Linked DNA regions of Homo sapiens: all the other regions are linked to region 1. The links are contacts of gene promoters, found by promoter capture Hi-C in blood cells and fetal thymus (Javierre and others, 2016). All regions are on one chromosome and are shown on one strand. The core of a region is centred on a gene start or on the middle of the fragment in contact, and the rest is flanking DNA. Distances in the headings are between cores, read along the strand shown.

Region 1 (4,166 bases), core at 987-3,486:
ACTCTGCACATAGTATATGTCCAGTAAATGTTTGTGGTTTATGTTTAGCCCATAAAAGTGCTTTGAAGGCAGATATCTAATTCACTGTTGTAGCCCAATGTCTTTCAAAGGGTTATCATGGCATATAGGATATGCTTAATAAATTATTATTAAATGAATTGAAGGTTAAATGCACATCTTTATCATTGAAGGTGTGGGAGGTGGATGAAAAAGATTCAAGTTTTCCATATTGGGCGGTTTGTAGGTGGCCATACTCCAGAGCTATAAGCCCGAAGTTTGCCCCATTTCTCCAAGTTCCAGTAGAAAACAGCCAAATGTCAGCCAGAAGAACAAGGGCAAGGAAGAGAGCAGTTGGGAACTCTATCTCCTGGAAATTTGCATCTTCACAGAAAGGCAGAGTGAATTACCTTAGTTCATCTTATTTCCTTTACTCCGAAGACCTATGTCCACTATGGTTGGCGTATGTGTTAAAGAAACAATTCCACCTGGAAGTGGACTACTGGGAAGTAGACTGGGAACTGGGAAGAGATGCTGACATGCGTTCTATTCCCTTTTTGTGGGGGTCCTATATATGGAACTGGTAGGTTGTGGTGTCAGCAGATGTGTATTCATTACAAATCCCCTTACTGTCATGTTACTTGATCCTGAGCCTTCAATATTGCTGTATTTGACCCAGAACAATTCCTGCTTTCCTATCTCCCTGTGACACGTTAACCTACTTACACTCACCTGGGTGTTGATTGCTGATTTTTTTGACTCTTTGAAGCTGATTTCTATAAAGAATGTGGTCTTTTTTTTACTCTGTCCTTCTCTGGTTGATATCAGTGGTCTGACATTTGGTGCCCTGAACTTCTGTTGCATCCCTGATGCTCTCCTGAATTCTCCTTATGCTACTTATTATGCCACAGGATGGATGGAATAGAAGATAGCCATTCTAATAAAGTAATTGTCATCATCATCATTGCTCCTTGTCCATATGCAGAGGTTTATAATTTCCAATATATTTACCATATTTATGGTCATATTTATTTGTGACCCATATTTTTTATAGGTGAAGAAAGGGGGGTGTTCAGAGAGGTTAACTGCTTGAGGATCCGTAGTGATTGTGACAAGACTCAAAACTTGGGCTTCTGAGTTCAGCTAGGGATGAAGAAGATGGAGGTGTAACATGTATTGCTAACCATGGCAGAGATTCCTGGTCCTGGAATCAGTTTGGATCTTGGTCTTTCCTCTGTGTAACTGTGACTTTAGGTGGGAGTTGTAATATATAATTTGGGGTCTTATTTCTTTTATCTGTAAGATTATCTTTCATGTCTTCTTTCATTCTAAGCCGAGATTCTAAGACATCTTTGTGAATTAGAACATAGGATACTTTTCATATTTTACAGATGGACAAAATGAGGCGCAGAGGGGCTGACATATCCAGCAACTCACAGTAAGGGGTAAAGTTTGGACTAAAGGCTGTCTCGACTCCTAGCACAGGGCTCATTCTGCCATATCCCATTGGCTTATCGCTACTGGGGGTTCCTCTGTGAAGTGCTATTTTAGAGGCCACCAGTTATCAAATATATATTTTTAAATTTTGAAAAAAGTTGCCTGCCTCATTATGTATAATTGTCTCCAGTGTTCTTTTTTTATGATGATGGTCACTGTGAGTAATAAGACTTGAATTAATCCTTCTCTGTAAAGGTTTGCTCAGTTTTCTCTCTGTCTCAGTTAAAGGGGTCTTGCCATACTACTCCCCGCATAGAGTTGTTGTGAGAACTAAGGAGAGCACTCAGAACAATGCCTGCAACATAACAATCACCCCCCCCCCGTGGATGTGAGCGCTGTCTCAGTAGCGGGTGTGCCCCACGGATGATACTACTGAGCTGGCAGGTGCATGGTCCTGTCATAGGTGTCCGCTTAGAGAAGTATAACCTCCTGTGTAAGGACACTAAATGCCAGGGCCTGATATATTATCCACTTTGATGTTGACATGGGCAGAGAATAGGCAGAAGAGCAGGCAAATTTTTGGGCAGGTATGGGGACTTTGAAAATTGAGCCTTGACAATATTTGCATCTACTCTGAGAAGAAAAAACCTCTCACCCTCCTCTGATAGCCTGCGTCCTCTACTCTGGCCTAGCTTCTGCGCTTGGGGCAGCTGGAGGGACAAACATATCCTACAGGACCTTCCAGAGCAACCCAACAGAGATAGCCCTTGAAGTTTTGGGACCCATCTTGTCCACCAGAGAGATGAATGGAGACCACATGGTTCTAGGATCTTCGGTGACTGACAAGAAGGCCATCATCTTGGTTACCATTTTACTCCTTTTACGCCTGGTAGCAATAGCAGGCAATGGCTTCATCACTGCTGCTCTGGGCGTGGAGTGGGTGCTACGGAGAATGTTGTTGCCTTGTGATAAGTTATTGGTTAGCCTAGGGGCCTCTCGCTTCTGTCTGCAGTCAGTGGTAATGGGTAAGACCATTTATGTTTTCTTGCATCCGATGGCCTTCCCATACAACCCTGTACTGCAGTTTCTAGCTTTCCAGTGGGACTTCCTGAATGCTGCCACCTTATGGTCCTCTACCTGGCTCAGTGTCTTCTATTGTGTGAAAATTGCTACCTTCACCCACCCTGTCTTCTTCTGGCTAAAGCACAAGTTGTCTGGGTGGCTACCATGGATGCTCTTCAGCTCTGTAGGGCTCTCCAGCTTCACCACCATTCTATTTTTCATAGGCAACCACAGAATGTATCAGAACTATTTAAGGAACCATCTACAACCTTGGAATGTCACTGGCGATAGCATACGGAGCTACTGTGAGAAATTCTATCTCTTCCCTCTAAAAATGATTACTTGGACAATGCCCACTGCTGTCTTTTTCATTTGCATGATTTTGCTCATCACATCTCTGGGAAGACACAGGAAGAAGGCTCTCCTTACAACCTCAGGATTCCGAGAGCCCAGTGTGCAGGCACACATAAAGGCTCTGCTGGCTCTCCTCTCTTTTGCCATGCTCTTCATCTCATATTTCCTGTCACTGGTGTTCAGTGCTGCAGGTATTTTTCCACCTCTGGACTTTAAATTCTGGGTGTGGGAGTCAGTGATTTATCTGTGTGCAGCAGTTCACCCCATCATTCTGCTCTTCAGCAACTGCAGGCTGAGAGCTGTGCTGAAGAGTCGTCGTTCCTCAAGGTGTGGGACACCTTGAGCCACAGCTGATGAAAAACTTCAAGGAGATTCTTGTGGAGAAGGCATGGACTCAAAGGGACATAGCTTCTCTCTTTGCCACATTGAATGTTTTCTCTCTGTTGCTACAGTTAATGATTAGAAAAATAACTTCAATGAAATAGGATACAAGGTGAGAGTAAAGGTCCTGAAATATGGGCTAGTGTCATGTTATGTACTCACCAAGTGCATAGTTCATGTGGCCATGGTTCCTGTGGGACCTGATGTGGTCAAAGAATCCAGAAGCCTTTATTTTTCCTGTGATCGATCTCTTCGTATTTAAAATAATCATTCTGGGAACTGGATGCAAAGATCCTCAAACTTCATGCAATATTTTATCTGTTCAATCGAACTGGGGCATGTTTTTGGAACTGCAGTTTTCTCAGGCTTTGTCCTGTGAACCACCTTTCCCTTCTCATCAATTCAAAGTTTTCTGGCCATCTAATGTGGTGCCTCTCTCCTTCTTTCCATGGAAGAGTTTCTGGTGTCTAAACCTTCTACACAGAGCATAGTGTAATTGGTGCATGTGTGTGGCAGTGTGTGTTGCCAGGGATGTGTGTATTCTCCGATGACCTTTGGAGATCCCTCTGAGTGCCAGGGGTCTATGATTTGTATGTGGTTCATGTTCTCTATAATAGCCCAGCCTGTTAGTCTCCTCTGTATTTGTTAAGGTCTGTGGGTTCAGATGTAACTTCTTTTGATTGATATTGGGACCTATTGTAATTCCCCTACTGACATGGGGAAGTTTATCTGTATCTGTCTAAGACCTAAGATTTAAGAAGAAAAAGCCTTTGTGTTTGGTGAACCATGTTCAGACTGCCTTTCTGCTTTTCCCAGCTCCTCTCAAACGTTCTTTAAGTTCAGTTACTCCCTGAATCATTCAAACGAGACAACCCTCAAGTTTCCTCCATTCACTTTAAAATCTCTCCGCCTCCTTTCCTGGTTTTTACCTCCAC
Region 2 (4,166 bases), core at 422-2,921, 670 kb after region 1:
CATTAGCTGACACCTCTCCCGACCTCCAAATGGGAAGAAACATGTTCCTGATGCCTTATGCTAAAGGGGGTGGAAATTCGTGTGGGTGAAACAGAGAAGGGGTATCCTTAGTTTCTCTTTCTGGTTCACAATCATATAAATTAGGGGACAGAGAAAAGCAGGTATATTCCAAGACAATTTCATCCAGGGGCATAACAATTTCCTCCTCTAAATGGGAATGTGAGGAGTTGAAGAGAACACTGCCTTAACTTCACTTCTTCATGACCTGGTCCCCTTCTGAATGCATCTACCTCCACCACTGTGCCTCCTGCGCTTAGAACAGTGGCTAAAACAGATCATGCACTCCAGGATCGTTTGTTAAAGGATGGATGAAGTACAAATTGACACTGGATAATATTGTTCTCTTATCGAATTAGCAAAGGTTGAAAATAAAAATACATGGTTGTGATGACCATGTGGGAAAGAGGCATGATTCTGAGGTACACATCAGTGATATATTATATTGGTATAAAATAATAGAATTTATATAGATAAAAATTAGTAGAATTTGTATTGGTAAATTTTCTGAAGCAAAGCTGGAAATAGATATCAAAAGCTTTGAAATTTCAATATATTTAGCACCTGCAAATTCACTTTTAGAATACATTCTCAATTAAAAATCATCAATATAAGCCAAACATAAGCTTGTAAGAATATTTATCTCAATGCTACCAAACATAAGAGAAATAGAAACCAAAAATTTCTGACAAGAAAAATGATTCAATAAATTATAATAAAAAGGATATTGTACTGCTTTTATATATTATTATATATTTGTATATTGCCTTTTTATTTTTTGTATATTATATATTTACTATTTTGATTTACAGACTTGAAACTATTTTCCTACATTTTCTTCCATTTTAATTCTTTCACGTGTGACTAAATTTTAGCATCAAGTGCTGATGAAGAATTAAATAAAATACTTGAAATAGAACTACAAACCCTAGAGATGGAAAATAGGTACCAGAGGTGCTTCCAGGGAGTATGGGCCAGTGGCTGAAAAAATGACGGTTGTAGGAAGTTTTAAAGAAATTACAAAGTTGAAAAGCTATTTACAAAAGATTTTCAATCTTAAATATGAAAGTAGAATTCATGTGAGAAGGTAAATGGGTTGCTAAGCAAGAATATGAAGAACAGAATGCCCTAACCACTTCATACTGGGTAGAAAAACTCAAGCATGCCCAGGATATAAAACCATCTTGTATTGCAGCATTTTGTCAGTGTCATCTCTAATTTCACTATGTTAATAACTAAGGATTCCACCCTATAAAAGAAGCAGAGTACCTGAATTCTCCTAAATGACACGTGTTTCCATGCATGTATGTGTATACAGTAATACAAGATATATTATATTACACCTTATGTTAATTTTTTTTTTATATAAGAAGTATTATAGCTATACTTTTTTTCCGATTACTCTGTTGGTAGAAGAGGATTTTTTTAATTTCATGAGCATAATTGAGTTGGTTCCAGTAACATATTTGAAAACAAATTCAACAAAGAATCCATTCAAAATAATACATTTCTTAATGCTCCCTCTGAAACACTCAGCAAATATTGTGCATCTTTGACCCACAGCTCTGACCTTCCTGTCCTAGATGAGGGTTTGTCTTTCTCTGCCACAAGAGCATGGAAGGCAACCAGACATGGATCACAGACATCACCCTGCTGGGATTCCAGGTTGGTCCAGCACTGGCGATTCTCCTCTGTGGACTCTTCTCTGTCTTCTATACACTCACCCTGCTGGGGAATGGGGTCATCTTTGGGATTATCTGCCTGGACTCTAAGCTTCACACACCCATGTACTTCTTCCTCTCACACCTGGCCATCATTGACATGTCCTATGCTTCCAACAATGTTCCCAAGATGTTGGCAAACCTAATGAACCAGAAAAGAACCATCTCCTTTGTTCCATGCATAATGCAGACTTTTTTGTATTTGGCTTTTGCTGTTACAGAGTGCCTGATTTTGGTGGTGATGTCCTATGATAGGTATGTGGCCATCTGCCACCCTTTCCAGTACACTGTCATCATGAGCTGGAGAGTGTGCACGATCCTGGTTCTCACGTCCTGGTCATGTGGGTTTGCCCTGTCCCTGGTACATGAAATTCTCCTTCTAAGGTTGCCCTTCTGTGGGCCCCGGGATGTGAACCACCTCTTCTGTGAAATTCTGTCTGTCCTCAAGCTGGCCTGTGCTGACACCTGGGTTAACCAAGTGGTCATATTTGCTACCTGTGTGTTTGTCTTAGTCGGGCCTCTTTCCTTGATTCTGGTCTCCTACATGCACATCCTCGGGGCCATCCTGAAGATCCAGACAAAGGAGGGCCGCATAAAGGCCTTCTCCACCTGCTCCTCCCACCTGTGTGTGGTTGGACTATTCTTTGGCATAGCCATGGTGGTTTACATGGTCCCAGACTCTAATCAACGAGAGGAGCAGGAGAAAATGCTGTCCCTGTTTCACAGTGTCTTTAATCCAATGCTGAACCCCCTGATCTACAGCCTGAGGAATGCTCAGTTGAAGGGCGCCCTCCACAGAGCACTCCAGAGGAAGAGGTCCATGAGAACGGTGTATGGGCTTTGCCTTTAAAACATGTGGTTTGCTGAAGCAAGAATTTTGAATATATTTTGTAGAAGAAGTTTAATATAAAAATGGTGAGTGATTGAATTCAAGCTTTGAAAATAGGGCAATATTCAATGGAATGTATGTTCTCTAAAATCGAGGAATCATCTCAGTAGATAGGAGAGCAAAATTATCAGAATATTTAGCCTTTCCTTTAAAAGTGTTAGAACATCTTTTTGCTTTTATTTTTATTTATTTACTTTTTATGTCACAGTGCCATTTTATATAATTTCCTGAAATAGGCAAAATGAAACTCTGATGTTAAAGGAGATAACAGCATTGTTTCATAATAGCTAAAACCTGAAAAGAATCCAAATATCTATCAACAGGGAGAAGTTGAGTAACTTGTATATTCACACAGCAGAATACTAAGTAACAAAGAAAATGAATGAACCTCAACATACAGTAACATGGATGAATATTACAAACACAAAATCTGGAGTGATACAGATCTGGAGTGATACAAAATCTGGAGTGATAGAAGCCAGACACAAAAGGATGTATGATTCCACGCGTACATAAATTTCAAACATAGGCAATAACTAAACTATAACGTTAAAGCTAGGATATTAGACATCATTAGGATGAAGGGAGTAGATAGTGACTGGGAGGGGTAGGAAGGCAGCTGGGTAATGGCCATTTACTGATAATCCCTTGCACTATACATTTATGCTTTGTGTACATTTCTCTTGTGTACATTTTAAAAATAATTTCTACATTTATTTTAGATTCAGGTTGTACATGTGCAGGTTTGTTACATGGGTGTATTGTGTGATGATGAGGTCTGTGGTACAGATGATCCCTCCCCCAGGTACTAGGCATAGTACCCAATAGGTTTTTTTTCGGTCCACACCCCCTTCCTCCTTACACTCTCTAGTAGTCCCCAGTGTCTACTTTTCCCATCTTTATGTCCATATGTACTCAAAGTTTAGCTCCCAGTTATAAATGAGAACATGTGGTATTTGGTTTTCTGTTCCAGTATTAATTTGCTTAGGATAATGGCTTCCATTTGCATACATATTGCTGCAAAGGACATAATTTCATGTTCATTGGCTATGTAGTATTCCACGGTGTATATGTACCACATTTTCTTTATCCAGTCTACTTCTGATGGCCACCTAGGTTGATTCCATGCCTTTGTTATTGTGAATAGCACTGTGATGAACATACACGTGTATGTGTTTCTTTGATAGAAATATTTCTTTTCCTTTGGGTATATACCCTGTAATGGGATTGTTGAGTTGAATGGTAGTTCTATTTTTAGTTCTTTAAGAAACCTCCAAACCTCTTTCTGCAATGACTGAACTAGTTTACATTTTCACCAGCAGTGTATAAGTGTTTCCTTTTATCTGCAGCCTTGCCAACATCTGTTATGTTTTGACTTTTTAGTAATAGCCATTCTGACTGATTTACGATAGAATGTCATTGTGGTTTTGATTTGCATTTATCTGATTATTAGTGAAGATGAGCATTTTTTCATGTTTGTTGGCTGCTTGTATGTCTTC
Region 3 (4,166 bases), core at 849-3,348, 560 kb before region 1:
TTACTTAGTCATCCCATGTTTATCTCAATGCCCCCATGCCTTCTCTTTGGTTGACGGCACAGATTAGGAAACTCCCCTTGCAGGCAATTTCAGCATCCTTCTGGGAAGTGCCCACCCAAAGAAGAGTCATTGCTCTGGACACCTGATATCCAGCAAGAAGAAGGCCAAGAAAGTGCGGAGGCCAGTAAGGAGATCAGGGCAGGGAGGGGGGATCCCTCCCAAGGGTGACATCAAGCCTTTCTAGCCAAAGTCTGCAGAGGCAGCCCCCATATGATCTGAGGAAAAGTGAGGGCAGACAGGACATGCGGAAGCAGCCTATTCTCAGCCACTCAGCGCAGGGCCTCCCCTCTGCTCTCCCCTGATATCGCACACAGGGAATCTCCACCACCCCTTCCAATCCCCCAGGCCTTTTTGCACTCTGTGCCTGGATCCCCTGGCCCTGGGGTCCTAAGAGTGGGAAGAGGATGAGTGAAGCCAGTGAGGACGACCTACTCTCTAACAACAATGCCATTCTGTTGCCCCAAGATGTCATCAGCCAAACATGTGCTCCAGTCCCCACTCTCCCAGGCCTTGGGGGAGAGGTGGGCGGCTGGAGAGATGGGAAGCCATAATTCACAGAAAGAGACCATCCCCAACCCAGAATCCTTCAGCAAAAGAAAACACAGGGGCCTCCAGGCAGCCTCCCCGGTCAGGCTAAAGCAGGCTCCTACTCTTGGGGTCAGAGAAAAACCCTAAGGCACAAAGACTTCAGGCTTTCCTCTATGACCAGACATCTGCCTCCTTCGTGACCCAGGGAAAGCCCCAACAGGCAGGACTTCCTTCTAGCATGCCACCAACTGGGTAGAGAACTCTATTAGAGACCTTGAAGAAGAGACCACATGCAGGGATAGCCCTGAGTTCCGATTCCCTGCTCCTCTCCTGCTCTGTACTCCAAGCTGTCATGGTGAAGAAAGCAGGACACGGGTTTAGGAAGTTTTCAGGGGCTGGAAGCCACCAGTGAATGTCCTTAGGGCTTAAACGCTAGAGTCTCGATTTCCACCACCTGAATGCGGAAGAGCACAGGTCCTCGGAACATCTGTTATTTTGACCCGCTTCCCCTCAGTCCCCACCCGCACTGAGAGAGAAATACACCTCAAGGTTGGGTTTGAGCGTTGTAGGTCTTCATATCCCCCCAGTGCTGGGCAAATAGTAAGGCCTTGGTCAGTGTCTGATGAGACAGATACATAGGAATGGTCACTTTTTTCACATTTTGTCTTATTTTCTGGTTCCTGGTGTCCGCGGTTCTCTCTGCTTCATTCATTCAATCGTTCACTCATTCCTCCATGCGAACATATGTATACTATGTGTTCCTGCCAGAGAGACTGTTCTAGAGGCAAGCAGTGGAGATACAGAAGGCATTGTCCTCACCTGCCGTCCCCTCTTGGGTGGAGGGGCTGTGATGCTCTATCCTTACAAGCCCCAGCAAGACGCCTGGCCCTTAGAGAAGTACTCACAAGAGGCTTGCAGAATCGAATTAGATCTTAAGATAGTGAACACCTGTGCCCATCTCAACCCCATCCTCTTTCACCAGCCCTACAGGCTGAGGCTCTTAAGACAGAATGCTCCCAAGGAGCCAGTCCGGGCCTGGGAGCACCATCTGTCCAGCCAAAGGTGCCAAACAAAGACGGGAGGTGAGGGAGGGGTGAGGGGTAGAGGTGCAGGCCTGGGGAGGTGGGGAAGGGAGCAGACCAAGGGGGCCTTACCTCTTCTGCTGCAGCAGGTTCTGCTCATCTCGGCTCTGGGCCCAGGACTCCCGTCTCTGGAACCATCTGCAGAACTTGCTCCATAGGCAGAGAATTAGCCCTTTCTCCTTGGGCAGTGACAAACCCATGGGGTGTAGGGCCGGCTCCTTGGGGGCCTGAGGCCGAGGCCAGACCCTGACGGGACTCAGCCTTGGGGCCACATCAGCCCCCCCAAGGGCCGGCCCACCGTCTCCCTGTAGAGGTCCCGTCTCCTGTCTCCTGCCTTCCTGACGAGTTCCTTGGGAGTCTCCCAGCAGCCCCAGCCAGTTTGGAGAGGGCTGTGAGTTTGTTACACTTGGCAGAGCCAGCCAGGACTCTGCAGGGCTGGCCTGTCTGGAGCTCCTGCTGGGAGTGAGCAGGAGGAGCCAAAGCTGCACGGACACGCCCTCCCTCCTCCCAAATTACCTGAGATTTAAAGACACAGGCCAGCCACAGACCTGCCTACCAAGGGGGACTTGTGCCAACTCCAATTCTTTCTCCACCCAGGGCTCTCTCCCTGCCCCCAGGCCAGTCACAACCAGGGAGGCCTTCAGAAAGACTGGCGAGGCCTCCCTTGGACGTCAGAACACCCAGTGACCTACCCTGAGAGACTCTAGGCAGTGAGAAAGGAGGGGAGGAGTCAGGGCAGGCCCATTCCCAATGTTGAGGACTCCCAGGAGGGAGCGCCCCACTTTCCCACAGTGCCTCTTCTGCCGACCACCTGCCTCACTCTCTGCCTCCCCCTGCTTATGTCCTGGAGAATTCCATTTTCTGGACTCTTCCAGTTTCATTCTTGCCAGGCCTGAAATAGGTATATAAATTGCGAAGATACTCAGTTCTCCCAGACTTTCCTCTCAGTCCCCATCACCTTTGGGTCAGCAAACTTTTTCTGGAAGGGCTGATAGGAAATGTAAAGATGTTAGGTTTTGCAAGCCATGTACACTCTCTAATGTACGTTATTCTTTGGTTTTGTTTTGGTGGTTGTTTTCTAACCACCCCCAAAGATGTAAAATGCATTCTTCGCTCACCAGCCAGGGCACAAAATCTAGCTCTGGGCAGACCCCCTGCTCAGGAGCTCCACAGACTGTCCACAATGCCCCGTGCATGGGGTGGGTGCCCGATAAAATACAGGACACGTGGTCAAATTTGAATTTTAGATAAACAACAAAGAATTTTTTAGTATAAATATACCCCACGTTTTGCAAGTATTCTATCTGCCAGCCTTCCCGTGGAGGTGACATTCAGCTGCTACTGTGTGCTGGGCCTTTTAACTGAGCGTTCCCAGGTAAACTCGTAACAAACCTGCAAGGCAGGTATTATTATCTACATTGTATTGATGGGAGAAACCAAAGCTCACCATGGTAAAGGAACTCTCCCAAGGCCATAGAGGTGGCAGAGGCAAGATTCACACCCATCCCTCATTCCAAGCCCACTTCTTTCTCCCTAGCACACCTCCTCATTCTAACTGGCCAACAGAGCTTCAGAGAGGTTAAGTGACTCGCACAGTCATACAGAAGAATGATGGCATTAAGCATGGCCCATCGTCTTCCCACAACAAAGAGCTCCATCATGAGCTTGCTGGAAGCTGTCGGAAAGGTCATTTAGTTCAACTTTTCCACTGGAAAGGGGCAGAAGCCCGGGCTTATCCAACCTCCTGGTGCCAGCCAGGTGCCAATAGCCTAGGGGCAGGTGTCTGGGTGTTCAGAGTCACAGGTGTGTGGATCACTTCCTAGCTTCAGAGTCTGTTTTGTCCTAACTTTCTCTGACTCAGAGTTGGAAGACCCAGCCAGGGGAGTGTGTGTGTGGCGTGTGTATGGCGTGTGTGCCCATGTGCATTTGTGTGTGGTGTTTATGCGTGTGTTCATGATGTGCATCGGTGGGGTGTTTTGTGTGTGGTATGCTGTATGTATATGATGTGCCTGTGGTGTGTTTGGTATGTGTCTACGTGTGTATGATATATGTGATATGTGTAGGTATGGCCTGTAGAGCGTGTGGATGTGGTGTCTGTGATGGTATGTGTGACATGTGTGTTGTGTATATACGTATTGTGGAAAGATTGTTGCATGTGTGTTGTGTGTATGGTGTGTAGTGGGTGATGTATATGGTACCTTTAAGGTATGTGTGCGTGTACATGATGTGTGTGTGTGTGTGTGGTGTATACATGATTTGTGTAGTGTATGGTGGGTTTACTATGTGTGTATGTATGGTGTGTGTTGTGTGTGTATGTATGTCATGGGGTGTGTGTCATATGTGCTGTGTGTGGGGGGAGTCGGTGTGTGGAGGGAGGTGGATGCTGAGGTAGGGCAGGGGAGAGAAGGACCCCTTCAAGTGGAAAGCTATTTGTGTTCCTGCCGCTGGGCAGAGGCCAGGCCACGCAGTCCTGAGCAAACAGTTCAATTGGATTAG

Evidence for each region. The method cuts DNA at HindIII sites, captures the fragments that hold promoters and counts their contacts. A CHiCAGO score of 5 or more calls a contact.
Region 2: a contact is called between the fragment with the promoter of OR2A2 here and the fragment with the promoter of TAS2R60 in region 1, in 10 of 17 cell types (naive B cells, activated CD4 T cells, total CD4 T cells and 7 more). The highest score is 18.9, in naive B cells.
Region 3: a contact is called between the fragment with the promoter of TRPV6 here and the fragment with the promoter of TAS2R60 in region 1, in 10 of 17 cell types (neutrophils, total CD4 T cells, monocytes and 7 more). The highest score is 12.7, in neutrophils.

Annotation. Positions count from the first base shown.
Region 1 is chr7:143,441,217-143,445,382 of GRCh38, forward strand. TAS2R60 (taste 2 receptor member 60) reads left to right here and starts at 2,237. Exons shown (of 1, transcript NM_177437.1): 1 at 2,237-3,193. The coding sequence starts at 2,237. The coding sequence ends at 3,193. All of the region lies in intron 2 of EPHA1-AS1 (EPHA1 antisense RNA 1), which reads left to right. The HindIII fragment of the contact is 8,585 bases long and covers 1-4,166 here.
Region 2 is chr7:144,107,912-144,112,077 of GRCh38, forward strand. It overlaps OR2A2 (olfactory receptor family 2 subfamily A member 2), which reads left to right and starts at 1,672. Exons shown (of 1, transcript NM_001005480.2): 1 at 1,672-2,628. The coding sequence starts at 1,672. The coding sequence ends at 2,628. The HindIII fragment of the contact is 1,147 bases long and covers 682-1,828 here.
Region 3 is chr7:142,883,647-142,887,812 of GRCh38, forward strand. TRPV6 (transient receptor potential cation channel subfamily V member 6) reads right to left here and starts at 2,099. Exons shown (of 15, transcript NM_018646.6): 1 at 1,743-2,099. The coding sequence starts at 1,990. The HindIII fragment of the contact is 18,692 bases long and covers 1-4,166 here.